Regions from separate parts of the Homo sapiens genome. Here regions 1, 2, 3 and 5 are each linked to region 4. Evidence: promoter capture Hi-C in 16 types of primary human blood cells and fetal thymus (Javierre and others, 2016). All regions are on one chromosome and are shown on one strand. Each heading gives the region's core, a stretch centred on a gene start or on the middle of the fragment in contact. The rest is flanking DNA. Distances are from core to core; before and after follow the strand shown. Region 1 has its middle 63 kb from the start of GZMB. Region 2 has its middle 140 kb from the start of GZMB. Region 3 has its middle 120 kb from the start of GZMB. Region 4 holds the start of STXBP6 (syntaxin binding protein 6). Region 5 overlaps GZMH-AS1 (GZMH and GMZB antisense RNA 1).

What was found. Contacts are between HindIII fragments. The CHiCAGO score rates a contact against its expected background, and 5 or more counts as called.
Region 1: a contact is called between a fragment that was not itself captured here and the fragment with the promoter of STXBP6 in region 4, in 3 of 17 cell types (monocytes, M1 macrophages and M0 macrophages). The highest score is 7.4, in monocytes.
Region 2: a contact is called between a fragment that was not itself captured here and the fragment with the promoter of STXBP6 in region 4, in 2 of 17 cell types (M2 macrophages and endothelial precursors). The highest score is 5.2, in M2 macrophages.
Region 3: a contact is called between a fragment that was not itself captured here and the fragment with the promoter of STXBP6 in region 4, in 4 of 17 cell types (M1 macrophages, M0 macrophages, monocytes and 1 more). The highest score is 8.2, in M1 macrophages.
Region 5: a fragment that was not itself captured here is called in contact with the fragment with the promoter of STXBP6 in region 4 in 1 of 17 cell types (monocytes); the score reaches 5.2 in monocytes.

Annotation. Positions count from the first base shown.
Region 1 is chr14:24,695,635-24,698,334 of GRCh38, reverse strand. No RefSeq gene overlaps it. Among named protein-coding and RNA genes, the nearest start is that of GZMB, 63 kb to the right of the region's middle. The HindIII fragment of the contact is 3,642 bases long and covers 1-2,700 here.
Region 2 is chr14:24,773,997-24,776,696 of GRCh38, reverse strand. No RefSeq gene overlaps it. Among named protein-coding and RNA genes, the nearest start is that of GZMB, 140 kb to the right of the region's middle. The HindIII fragment of the contact is 4,019 bases long and covers 1-2,700 here.
Region 3 is chr14:24,754,192-24,756,891 of GRCh38, reverse strand. No RefSeq gene overlaps it. Among named protein-coding and RNA genes, the nearest start is that of GZMB, 120 kb to the right of the region's middle. The HindIII fragment of the contact is 5,821 bases long and covers 1-2,700 here.
Region 4 is chr14:25,048,874-25,051,573 of GRCh38, reverse strand. STXBP6 (syntaxin binding protein 6) reads left to right here and starts at 1,427. Exons shown (of 6, transcript NM_001394410.1): 1 at 1,427-1,696. It overlaps LOC124903295 (a long non-coding RNA gene), which reads right to left and starts at 1,230. Exons shown (of 2, transcript XR_007064091.1): 1 at 1,140-1,230. The HindIII fragment of the contact is 7,485 bases long and covers 1-2,700 here.
Region 5 is chr14:24,642,416-24,645,115 of GRCh38, reverse strand. GZMH-AS1 (GZMH and GMZB antisense RNA 1) reads right to left here. Exons shown (of 3, transcript XR_007064087.1): 3 at 1-1,851. Among named protein-coding and RNA genes, the nearest start is that of GZMB, 9.6 kb to the right of the region's middle. The HindIII fragment of the contact is 5,423 bases long and covers 1-2,700 here.

The sequences.
Region 1 (2,700 bases), core at 60-2,559, 350 kb after region 4:
ATGCTACACATTAATTAAATGCACGCACATAACCTCAGCATAGTCTTCACTTCGCTTATCTAAAACAACAGATTTTCTTATGGACCAAAAGGCCTGAAACGGAAATATAGACATGAATTCTACATTATTATAGGGAGCCAAAACCATCAGTTATGTATAAGACAGACAGGTCCAACCAGAAGAAAAATTGTAAAATTTGACCCAGAATAGGGCCGGGTGCGGTGGTTCACTCCTGTAATCCCAACACTTTGCGAGGCCGACACGGGCGGATCACGAGGTCAGGAGATCCAGACCATCCTGGCTAACACAGTGAAAGCCCGTCTCTACTAAAAATACAAAAAATTAGCCGGGCGTGGTGGCGGGCGCCTGTAGTCCCAGCTACTTGGGAGGCTGAGGCAGGAGAATGAAGTGAACCTGGGAGGAGGGGCTTGCAGTGAGCTGAGATCGCGCCACTGCACTCCAGCCTGGGTGACAGAGCCAGACGCCATCAAAAAAAAAAAAAAAAAAAAAAAAAAAAAAAAAAATCTGACCCAGAGTATTACTCATTCAGCAGTCATTAGGAAAACTTTTAAAAATTAACACAGGATAGGAGTCAACAGGAGCAAGTTTTGTTACCGAAGAATCAGTCCGTACTGGTGGCTGAAAAACCACTACTCTCCACCGGGCACACCTGTGCGCCTGCCTGAAACCGTGGCTTACCATGCAGCCTACAGGGACACTACATCTTTCTCAGCATGGAGATCCCGCACAACACAGCGAAATACTATGAGTTCTTGTCAGCAATCTTTGTCTCCACACACTTCTTCCACTCACTAACCTTCCACTTACTCCTCCACTCGCTCATTCACCTTCCACTCACTCACTCCTCCACTCACTCATCTTCCACTCACTCATCTTCCACTCACTCACTCCTCCACTCACTCACTCCTCCAGTTACTCATTCCTCCACTCACTCACCTTCCACTCACTCACCTTCCACTCACTCACTCCCCCACTCACTCACCTTCCATCACTCACTCCTCCACTCACTCATCTTCCACTCACTCACTCCTCCACTCACTCATCTTCCACTCACTCATTTTCCACTCACTCACTCCTCCACTCACTCACCTTCCACTCACTCATCTTCCACTCACTCACGTTCCACTCACTCACCTTCCACTCACTTATCTTCCACTCACTTACGTTCCACTCACTCATCTTCCACTCACTCACCTTCCACTCACTCACTCCCCCACTAACTCACCTTTCATCACTCACTTCTCCACTCACTCATGTTCCAATCACTCACTCCTTCACTCACTAATCTTTCACTCACTCATTTTCCACTCACTCACTCCTCCACTCACTCACCTTCCACTCACTCACCTTCCACTCACTCATCTTCAATTCACTCACTCCTCCGCTCACTCACTCCTCCAGTTACTCACTCCTCCACTCACTCACCTTCCACTCACTCACCTTCCACTCACTCACTCCCCTACTGACTCACCTTCCACTCACTCACTCCTCCACTCACTCACTTTCCACTCACTCACCTTCCAGTCACTCACTCCTCCACTCACTCACTCCTGCACTTACTCATTCCTCCACTCACTCACCTTCCACTCACTCACTCACTCACCTTCCACTCACTCACCTTCCACTCACTCACCTTCCATTCACTCACCTTCCACTCACTCCTCCACTCACTCACTCCTCCACTCACTCACCTTCCACTCACTCACTCCCCCACTCATTCACCTTCCACTCACTCACCTTCCACTCACTCACCTTCCACTCACTCACCTTCCACTCACTCCTCCACTCACTCACGTTCCACTCACTCCTCCACTCACTCACCTTCCACTCACTCACTCCTCTGCTCACTCACTCCCCCACTCACTTCTCCACTCACTCACTCCTCCACTCACTCTTCCACTCACTCACTCCTCCACTCACTCACTCCCCCACTCACTCACTCCCCCACTCACTCACTTCTCCACTCACTCCTCCACTCACTCTTCCACTCACTCACTCCTCCACTCACTCACTCCCCCACTCACTCACTCCCCCACTCACTCACTTCTCCACTCACTCCTCCACTCACTCTTCCACTCACTCACTCCTCCACTCACTCACTCCCCCACTCACTCACTCCCCCACTCACTCACTTCTCCACTCACTCCTCCACTCACTCTTCCACTCACTCACTCCTCCACTCACTCACTCTTCCATGCACTTTCTTTTCGCTCACTCATTGTCCACTCATTCTGCCACTCACTGACCCTATACTCCCTCACTCCTCCACTCACTGTAACATAATGTCTCTACCCACCACAGCACTGAAATGGCCCCTGCTAAGACCACTCATGCCCTTGAGAACCTAAATCACTTTTCAACCCTCATTTTACCTGATGTCTTCACATTAGTTACATAGTCCCTCTTTTTTTCCACCCCTTTCGTTAACTCCATAGTTCTGTTTTTTTCTTTTTTCCTCCTTGTTCTTTTGTGGGTCTCCCTTCTTTACAGGACCTTGAAATATGGTAGTGTGCTGGGTTATAATCTAGGCCTCAACTTTACTCTTCCCTGGGGCTCGTCTCAGTGACTCATGGATGTGTATATTTAGCACAGAACTCCCTTGTGAGCTCCAGATTCATGTGCTTCTCTGCATATTTCCCTGACATCTGAAATTCAACTTGTTCAAAATTTCACTTGTGT
Region 2 (2,700 bases), core at 190-2,689, 270 kb after region 4:
GCCATTAACCAAAAAAGAAAAAAATTCCTGGTTTTGAAGTTCCCTTTCTTTTTAATGCTTGAAAAATATCATGAGTTCTGCTATATCCAGGGTTACTGAGACTTCTGATGTCAATCTGATTATTTTTCCTTTGAAGATGATCTGCTTTTTTCTTTTACCGAAAAGAATTTAGAATTTTTTCTTTGTCTTTTGTGTTCTTCTTCTAAATGTGTATGTATTTCTAAAATCCATCTTGTTTAGCACTCTACAAGCCCTTTCAGCCTGAGATATTAACATATTGTATATCAGCTTTCCGTTGCTGTATAATAAACATGCCAGAACTTGGTGGCTTAACAAGCAACCTTTTCGTTTTCTGTGATTCTATGGGTTAACAATTTGGGCTGGGTTCTGCTCGTGGCTCTTCACAGTCAGCTACTTGTCAGCTAAATGGCTCTGCTTCTAGTGTCAATTGGCAGTCAGCGAATAATAAAAGAATGAGGGCCACTGGGCCATGTGTTTCTCATCATCCATCTGGCTAGCTTGGGCTCACTCACAGAGTGGCTCAGCTTCAGAAAGCAACAAAAGATGGTAAGTCCCAGTGTGCCGCCCTTTTCAAATCTCTGCTTGCGTCAATTTTGCCCTTTTCTCATTGGCTAAAACAAGTCACCTGGCTACGCCTAGAATGTGGTCTGGGAGAGGACTACCAACGCGCATGGCTGTAGGGAGGTGAAACAACGTGGGGGCCATTTTTGCAAAATCTACCACATCATCCTTTAATTCTGAAAAAATCTTGATGACTTTTCAAAGTATTTTCTCACCGATACTTATTTTTGCTCTCTCCCTCTGAGACCCCTAACATACAAATATTAACTTCTATTTTTCTCCTTCATGTCTCTTAACTTTTACTTGGATAGTTTGTTTAACTGTTTTAATCTCTGTGGGAGGGTTCTTGACCTGATTTTTTACTTTATGTGTTCATTTCATGACTACGTGCATTCTGTTTTGTTCTCAAGTGATCTGTTGAGTTCCTTATGTTAACAATTATATTTTTCATTCCTAGCATCTTCAGTCAGTTTTTCTTTGACTGTTTTTGCTTCCTGTCTCCAGAATCCTCCGTTACCCTAGTATAGGATATTATCTTATACCATATTATCCTAGTATAGAGTACTTCCTATACTTATTTTAAATTTGGTTCTGTCTGGTTTATTAAGTCTGAGTCTTTGCTTTCTGGTTTCCTTTTGTTGCTTTATTTGAGGGTGCAGATATATTGTCACCTTTTCTCTAAGACTCATATTACCCTGAGAATATCAACTGCCTTGGCTGATAGTGGGCTTATGAAAGAAAGGGTCCTTGCTCAGGGCCGAAGGCTGAGGTCCTTGCTTATGCCTCCGCTGGTGAGTTTGGGAGCTGGCACGGTGCAAGAAAACAAAATTTCTGGGCACCATTTCCTAGATACTCCCCAACTCCCAAATAAGTTACTTCGCCCCTCAAACTACATCCTCCAGTTTTCAGAATAGTAGCTAAGACTGCTTGAGCACTTAGTATGTATCAGTTTCAGTTTTAAGTACTTTTACATGTATTGCATCTTTTAAACCACCTAAAAGGTGGGTAATATTATGGCCACTTTAGAGATGAGAAACAGAGAAAAAAAGGAAGTTTCCTGAAGTCACAGAGAAGTAAATGATGGGGACAGCATTAAAATCTAGGCAGTTTAGCTTCAGAGCCCATGTTCTTAATCTCTATACTACAGAGTGGGGAGGGCTGGAGAAGAGGGACCTGAGAATATCAACTGCCTTGGCTGATAGTGAGTATATGAGAGAGGGTCCCTCTTTCTCCAGCCCTTCGCATTCCATAGTATAAAGATTAAGAGCATGGGTGCTGAAGGCATCAGGACTTCTGCCTGACCCAGTTTTATCTGCTCTCCACCCAGGTGGGCTCTAACACTGCTCTGACGTTACCCTGATGCTTCTAGCTGCTGCTAAGCCAGCAGGGCTGTTTTTCTGCCTGGCAAGAAATTTTCTGCTTGTAGCAATGTGAGAGAATGATCAAGATATAACCAGAAAACTCTTTTCTGTAGTCTGTTCCCAATCTTGGCACCAGATCCTCTACCCCTCTTCACACTCACTGCCCCCACCCCTGCCCCATCATTACATACCCTGAGACCCAATCACCGTCTGCCTCACCAGTATCTTTTTACCTTTTGTGGGGGTTTTATGCTGTGTTATTAGATGCATCCAACTTGTTTATATGACAACTTTGGGGTTGGTTCAGAGGAAGGAGCCAGCATCACATATTAGGTCACCATTTAGGCAGGAAACATCTGTGTATGTAATTTCCGAAGTAACTTATTCACTAATCCTAGCCCCAGCGAACATCTAGCTCCATGAGTGCTGACCTCTCCTCTTCACCAGATATTTCCTTCTGGCTCATATTCAATCCCCAAAATCAACACAGGATTTTTTTGTTATCTTATCAGTCTTTAAAGTTTATTGGCCTTCTGCGAAAATGGATCTCTATACACACTCACATACATGTAAACATCCAGATTCAGGGCTAAAATTGACCTTATAACAGGCAACATTTTTGAGTCCTCCCTTTTCTCCTTCTTAACAGTGATATTTACTCCCTGATTGTTTGAGCATTTTTAACAGTTTTCCTAAATAATACAGGCATATAGATCTCTCTCTAACCACACAGCACTTTTTTTTATTTTATTACTAT
Region 3 (2,700 bases), core at 82-2,581, 290 kb after region 4:
ATTTCAGAGCCTGTTATTGTTCTATTCAGGGATTCAACTTCTTCCTGGTTTAGTCTTGGGAGGGTGTATGTGTCCAGGAATTTATCCATTTCCTCTAGATTTTCTAGTTTATTCACAAAGAGGAGTTTACAGTATTCTCTGATGGTAGTTTGTATTTCTGTGGGATCAGTGGTGATATCCCCTTTATCATTTTTTACTGCATCTATTTGATTCCTCTCTCTTTTCTTCTTTATTAGTCTTGCTAGCAGTCTATCAATTTTGTTGATCTTTTCGAAAAACCAGCTCCTGGATTCATTGATTTTTTGAAGGGTTTTTTGTGTCTCTAGCTCCTTCAGTTCTGCTCTAATTTTAGTTATTTCTTGTCTTCTGCTAGCTTTCGAATGCGTTTGCTCTTGCTTCTCTAGTTCTTTTAATTGTGATGTTAGGGTATTGATTTTAGATCTTCCCTACTTTCTCTTGTGGGCATTTAGTGCTATAAATTTCCTTCCACACACTGCTTTAAATGTGTCCCAGAGATTCTGGTGCGTTGTGTCTTTGTTCTCATTGGTTTTGAAGAACATCTTTATTTCTGCCTTCATTTCATTATGTACCCAGTAGTCATTCAGGAGCAGGTTGTTCAGTTTCCATGTAGTTTAGTGGTTTTGAGTGAGTTTCTTAATCATGAGTTCAAATTTTAAAATACTGGCAAACCGAATCCAGCAGCACATCAAAAAGCTATCAAACATGATCAAGTGGGCTTCATCCCTGGGATGCAAGGCTGGTTCAATATACACAAATCAATAAATGTAATACATCACATAAAAAGAACCAATGATAAAAACCACATGATTATCTCAATAGAGGCAGAAAAGACCTTAGACAAAATTCAACAGTGCTTCATGCTAAAAACTCTCAATAAACTAGGTATTGATGGAACGTATCTCAAAATAATAAGAGCTATTTGTGACAAACCCATAGCCAGTATCATACTGAAGGGGCAAAAACTGGAAGCATTCCCTTTGAAAACTGGCACAAGACAGGGATGCCCTCTCTCATCACTCCTATTCAACATAGTGTTGGAAGTTCTGGCCAGGGCAATCAGGCAAAAGAAAGAAATAAAGGGTATTCAATTAGGAAAAGAGGAAGTCAAATTGTCCCTGTTTGCAGATGACATGATTGCATATTTAGAAAACCCCATCGTCTCGGCCCAAAATCTCCTTAAGCTGATAAGCAACTTCAGCAAAGTCTCAGCATACAAAATCAATGTACAAAAATCGCAAGCATTCTTATACACCAATAACAGACAAACTGAGAGCCAAATCATGAGTAAACTCCCATTCACAACTGCTACAAAGAGAATAAAATACCTAGGAATCCAACTTACAAGGGATGTGAAGGACCTCTTCAAGGAGAACTACAAACCACTGCTCAAGGAAATAAAAGAGGACACAAACAAATGGAAGAACATTCCATGCTCATGGGTAGGAAGAATCAATATTGTGAAAATGGCCACACTGCCCAAGGTAATTTATAGATTCAATGCCATCCCCATCAAGCTACCAATGACTTTCTTCACAGAATTGGAAAAAACTACTTTAAAGTTCATATGGAACCAAAAAGGAGCCCGCATTGCCAAGTCAATCCTAAGCCAAAAGAACAAAGCTGGAGGCATCAAGCTACCTGACTTCAAACTATGCTACAAGGCTACAGTAACCAAAACAGCATGGTACTGTTACCAAAATAAAGATGTAGACCAATGGAACAGAGCAGAGGCCTCAGAAATAACATCACACATCTACAACCATCTAATCTTTTACAAACCTGACAAAAACAAGCAATAGGGAAAGGATTCCCTATTTAAGAAATGGTGCTGGGAAAACTGGATAGCCATATGTGGAAAGCTGAAACTGGATCCCTTCCTTACACCTTATACAAAAATTAATTCAAGATAGATTAAAGACTTAAATGTTAGACCTAAAATCATAAAAACCCTAGAAGAAAAACCTAGGCAATACCATTCAGGACATATGCATGGACAAGGACTTCATGTCTAAAACACCAAAAGCAATGGTAACAAAAGCCAAAATTGACAAATGGGATCTAATTAAACTAAAGAGCTTCTGCACAGCAGAAGAAACTACCATCAGAGTGAACAGGCAACCTAGAGAATGGGAGAAAATTTTTGCAATCTATCCATCTGACAAAGGGCTAATATCCAGAATCTACAAAAAACTTAAACAAATTTACAAGAAAAAACAAACAATCCCATCAAAAAGTGGGCAAAGGATATGAACAGATACTTCTCAAAAGAAGACATTTATGCAGCCAACAGACACACAAAAAACCGCTCATCATCACTGGCCATCAGAGAAATGTAAATCAAAACAACAATGAGATTCCATCTCACAACAGTTAGAATGGCGAGCATTAAAAAGTCACGAAACAACAGATGCTGGAGAGGATGTGGAGAAATAGGAATGCTTTTACACTGTTGGTGGGAGTGGAAACTAGTTCAACCATTGTGGAAGACAGTGTGGCGATTCCTCAAGGATCTAGATCTAGAAATACCATTTGACCCAACGATCCCATTACTGGGTATATACCCAAAGGATTATAAATCATGCTACTATAAAGACACATGCACACGTATGTTTATTGTGGCACTATTCACAATAGCAAAAACTTGGAATCAACCCAAATGTCCATCAATGATAGACTGGA
Region 4 (2,700 bases), core at 178-2,677:
CATCTTCACAGAATTCAGTTCGGATTGTCTCCTCCCCCAGCATCTCTGCTATCTCCACGTAGTCTACAAACTAAGTGCAGGAGCCACAGACTGACAGTCAGGACTTCTGCCTGAGCCCCCATCCACAGCTCAAACCCTCTTTCCTATTTCACTATGCTAATGCTTACCCCTTGCACTCCAAACAAGCAGGTCTGTGTACCACCATCTAACACCCCAACAGGGCCAGGCTAGGGTGAGGTGAGTCACAGCACTTAAAGGTTCACCAAAGAATTCAGTAATCAAGGTTAATATTTTAATGGAATATTTAAAAAAATCAAAATTAATATCAAAAATGCATGATGAAAAATAACAAAATTTTAAATAAAGACAGGGTAAGTTTAGGGGTTTTTCCTATTGCTTCAGGCTCAAAAGTGCCTTCCGGGGCACTGTTATCGGCCCTGCAGTGACTCCCCACACAGATACTTTTACTAATGATGTTTCCCAAAAGTTAGTTCTTACAACCGCTTTCTACATTAGTAACGTCTTTCTTCTTGAACGCTCCAGCATTTAAGTGTAGCGCTCTACTGTCAGGAAAACCCATTTCCCCTAGTAACTAGTAGTACTTCGAAGATATTCTGAATCATCTTGGATCCTTTCCAGCACTTTCCCAAACCACAGTGAGCACTCAGCACCACTTCGCTAAAAGAGTGCAGAATCACAATGCTCAAATCACTGTCTGGGGGGTTCAGCAGGGAGGGGACGCAGATATGTTTTGTTTAGTCCAGGGTGTTTTGAGAAAATTGAATTTGTTATCAAGATTTTACAAATCAGGATATTGTACATGAATATACTCCGTCATTTCTGGAAAAATCAGAAAATCTAGCAACACTAGGTCTAATTCTTGCCCGATAGCAAGGGACCCTGAGAGCAGATAAGCGGCCCTGCCTTCGGAGCTCTCTCCAGTTCGCCTTCCCCCAGTTACAGTGCCTGTCAGGCCCCATTAGATCTTTGAGTTTGCTATCGTAAGAATAAAGGAAGGAGCGCACAGGATAAAAACCCATCGGCTGGGTCTATTCGTTTTTTCCTAGAGAAAAAAAAAAATGTTTCCTGGTTGTCCTTTCGAATATAGTCTCACAGAGAAGCTCACAGAAGCAGCCCACCTTTCTAGCCCACAAACTTCCCACAAGCCGTGAAAGTCGCACCGGCTCTTGCACCCAGATCGGTTTCTCCCGGGTCTTTGGCTCAGGGCCCCCGCCCCTACATTGGCCTTTCCCTTCCTCTGCCACCTCCGCGCTCCGAGGCCTGGGGCGGGTCGCGGGTCCCGGCCCCCAGCCCCCAGCCCCTAGCCGCTGCTCTTTGCCCCGGGCCAGGGCGCTCGGGCTCGCCCACGGCGGCACTGAGCATGCTCAGAGGCGGCCGCGCGGGCAGGTTTGCTTCGCAGGCGCTCGCACTCGGCGGCGGGCGGGCGCGCGGCTGCAGCTGGAGCTCCAGCGCCCGGAGTTGGAGTTGCCGGGAGTTTCCCCCCAACCCCTCCCTTTTCGCGCGCGGCAGCAGGAGCCGGCGCGGGAGCCGCGAGCGGCGGCGAGCCAGCACCCGGGCCGGCTAAGCCTTGTCCGGAGCCCGGAGCCCCGCGCGGGGCAGCCCCCCGGGGAGGAGCCTCGTGCTCTGGGACGCGTGCCGCGCACTGGCACGGCAGGGGCGCGAGCCAGGCTGCACGGTAGGACCGGGGCGAGGGGAGCCAGGCGGTCAGGGCGGAGGCCAAGCCCGGGAGATGCGGTTGCAGCCGCCACGGCTGTTGGGGCGCCTGGCGCTCCGTCCGAGGCGGGTGGCTGTGAGGCCAGGGGAGTAGGCAGGCTCCCAGAGAGATTCTTCCAAGTTGGCGGGTGGCGGGAGAGGGGGCCGCGCGCCCCGGCGCAGCTGCTTTGTGCGCGCAGAGAGGGACTCGTGTCCCTGGTTCTCTCCAACCCTGGGACCCGTTGTGCGGGCAGTATTGGGCAAGCCGCAGAACGGAGCGATTTCCTCCGAGAAAGTTGAGGATGGAGCCTTTTTTTCCGCACCGTCCCCGCGATGGCATGGGCCCCGAGAATGCTGCCCCGAGGCTCCCAGTGTGGGGGAGCTCGGGGTCGCTGCGCCTCTAGCTTGAGCGCAGAAATCCGCGAATCACTCCGATCTTCGCGAACTCTGGCATCTTCTAGGAAAATCATTACTGCCAAAACTGAGGCGAGCTTTTCTGGCGGGCACGGCACCCTGCCCCCAGGGCGCTGGCCCTGGGCGATGCCCCCTTTCCGATCTCAGGCTTGGTCAAGGGCGCCAGGTTCCGAATTCGCGCTTGCCGTGCACGCCGGCATCGAGCCTCACCAACACCGCCGGGCAACGTGGCTGGAGTAGGTGGGTGGCTTGATTTTCCCTCCAACCTTTCCTCAGGTTTACAACACCCCGCCACCTCACCACCCCACCCCGTTCATCTTCACAGAGGACAGGACCTGCAGGTGGAGAATTTGGAAAGACATCTTGTTCTTTAGGAGAAAGTCCCCGGGGTGTATCTGCCCTTGGTTCTGGCCCCAGGATTTCATAACGAACCTTCTCCCCTTCCTATTACGCTTCCCTAGGGACTGGGTGGGAGAGAATAGGATCGGTAGGTCCGCAGGAACTTCCATCTCATTCCACCCTCTCCTAAGATTGCCTTCCGGGCGACCCCAGGACCCTGGAACTGGCATTGTG
Region 5 (2,700 bases), core at 163-2,662, 410 kb after region 4:
GTAGAGATGAATTGTGACTCTACCTCTCATACAAGCCTGAGCCTGGAGGGCACTTGTCCTGTGGGAATGCAGTCACCTGAAGGGTCCCAGAAAGGCTGTCTACAGGTGCACTCATGCCGAGTTCCTTTGTGAGAAACCCCAGCTGTGTCAGCAGTGGTGCATGAGGGGGAGAAGTCCTATTCTCCAAGACCCTTCACAAGCACCAGGGCTGCCTGACTGGTGAGGTAGAGCCACAGACTTCCCCACTGAGCCCAGCACTGCACCTGTCTCTCTGCTGAAAGAAATTTCCCACAATTGTAAAGTTCTGAGACTCAAAGCCTGCCATCTGGATTCCTTTGTCCCACAGGGTGCTCCCTTCATGTGGTGCACTCCTGCTTACCCTAGGAGTAGGAGTCCCTGAGTGCCAGACTACTATGATTGCTGCTGCGGCTCTGGATCTGGCCACCCAATGGGGCTGCTACATTCCAGGCCTGTGCTAGGGAATGTCTGCAAAGGGTCCAGCGATGTGACTTATCCTCAAGTCTCCCAGCAGTGGGTACCAGCACCAGCTCTGATGGGGCTGGCAGAGGAGTAAAGTAAACTCTGTGAGATTCTTTGGTTACAAATAGCCTTAGTGTGCTGGCTTTCTCTAATTTCAGTTGTAGTAGTAATGATCTGGTCATGTGAACAGACTCAAGACCTCCTGGTTAGCCAGGGTGATGCAGGCAATGGTGGTAGCTGTAGTCATGCAAAAGTTTTCTCCTTCCCAGTGCTGTGTTATTCTGCCTACAGATGTTGTAATGGACTATGTTGATTGGCCTATAGCCAGGAGGTGCAGTTGGTGCGAAAGAGCACTGACTGCAGTAGTAGTGGTGGAATTCATGCTTGGCTTATGTGACCAGGGGAGGTACTCTGGTGTCTCAAGCAATGGGCAGGTCCATAACACTCCCGAAAGTTTCTGTCCTTTGTGTTAAGCTACCAGGGTGGGTAAAAAGGCAAACCAGGTCGGGGCTGAGTCAGGCAAGTTCGCGCTCTGGCTATCCACGTGCAGGTGCAATCAGTGGCCCAGTGGGGATCAGAGGGCAGTTCTCTGGATGCTGGGATAATGTTCCAGGGAGGAGTGCAGTTGCCCCTGCCGCACAGAAGAGTCCACACAGGAAGTGGGGAGTACAGGTGGCAGTAAGCCCCACTCAGCCCCTATGCACTTGGCAAGACAGGTCTCAGACCCACAGTGTTCTACTGGCAGCGGCCATCTAGGTTGCAAGCAGGCTGCATTCAGCACTCAAAACTGTCCCAGACCATAAGCCTTCTCTGGCTGCCAAGACAAAAACTGCTCAGGCCATGCCCCTCCTGATCTGCTAGCGAAGCAGGGGCACCCAGCTCCTACACCTGTGGGCACAGCGCACTTCCCACTTGCCCCTCAGTTCTGGTCAAGGAGGTCCATCCCTGCTAGAGATTATATTGTGAATCTCAGTTGGGAGCTTCTCACTCCTCTCAGCCCATGGCCACCGCCTGAGCTAGTTGGCTGACTTCTGCATGGTCCTCTGTGAGGTAGGATCAGGAATGGCTTCCCTCTGTCCCCAGTAGAGTCTAGGAGTGCAAGCAAAGCACATCCTGAAGCTGCTCCTTCTCATATACTCCCCTCAGCTCATTAAATCAGCTCCAGCACTGGGTAGGGTTAAGGTCTTCCCCGTGGCCTGGATTGCCAGGTTCCCCAGTGGGAGTGCATATCCCAGAGGCAGTTTCTCTTCCTTTCACACTCTGAGGACTCAGAGTTTTCTGCCTGGCTCATGGTGTAAGCTGCAGTTTGCCACTTCTTTCAAAGGGTCTGTGGTTTCTTTCAATTTTCCTCTTAAGCTCCTGTGTTGCTTCCTGGAAAAAAAGTTCACAGCGTGAATCTCTACACACTATTTTGTCTTTCCAAATAAGAGAGGCATGCTAACAATGACTTTAATCTACCATCTTGGAAATGAAAACTATCACAGCACTATTCACAATAGCCAAGATATGAAATCATTTAAGTGACTATCAACAGATGAATGGCTAAAGAAAATGTAGTATACAGACACAATGGAGTACTATTCAGCCATGAAAAGAAGAAAATCCTGTCATTTGCAGCAACATGGATGGAACTGGAGGTCATTATGCTAAGTGAAATAATTCAGACACAGAAACATAAATACCACTTTCTAACTCATATATAGGAGCCAAAAAAAAAAATTGAGGTCATAGGCCGGGCGCGGTGGCTTAGGCCTGTAATCCCAGCACTTTGGGAGGCCGAGGCAGGCAGATCACCTGAGGTCAGGAGTTCAAAACCAGCCTCGCCAACATGATGAAACCCTGTCTCTATTAAAAATACAAAAATTAGCCGGGTGCGGTGGTGGGCACCTGTAATCCCAGCTACTCAGTAGGTTGAGGCAGGAGAATCGCTTGGACCCAGGAGGCAGAGGTTGCAGTGAGCTGAGATCATGCCACTGCACTCCAGCCTGGGTGACACAGTAAGACTCCATCTAAAAAAAAAAAAAAAATGAAGTCATAGAAGCAGAGAGTAGAATTGTGGAAGTAGAGAGTAGAATTATTAGAAGCTGGGAAAGGGATAGAGGAAGGGAAGGAGAGGTTGGCTAATGGATTCAAGTTACAGTTAGATAAGAGGAATGAGTTCTACTGCTCTATAGCACTGTAGAGTGAATATAGGTAACAATAATTTATAGTATATTTTCA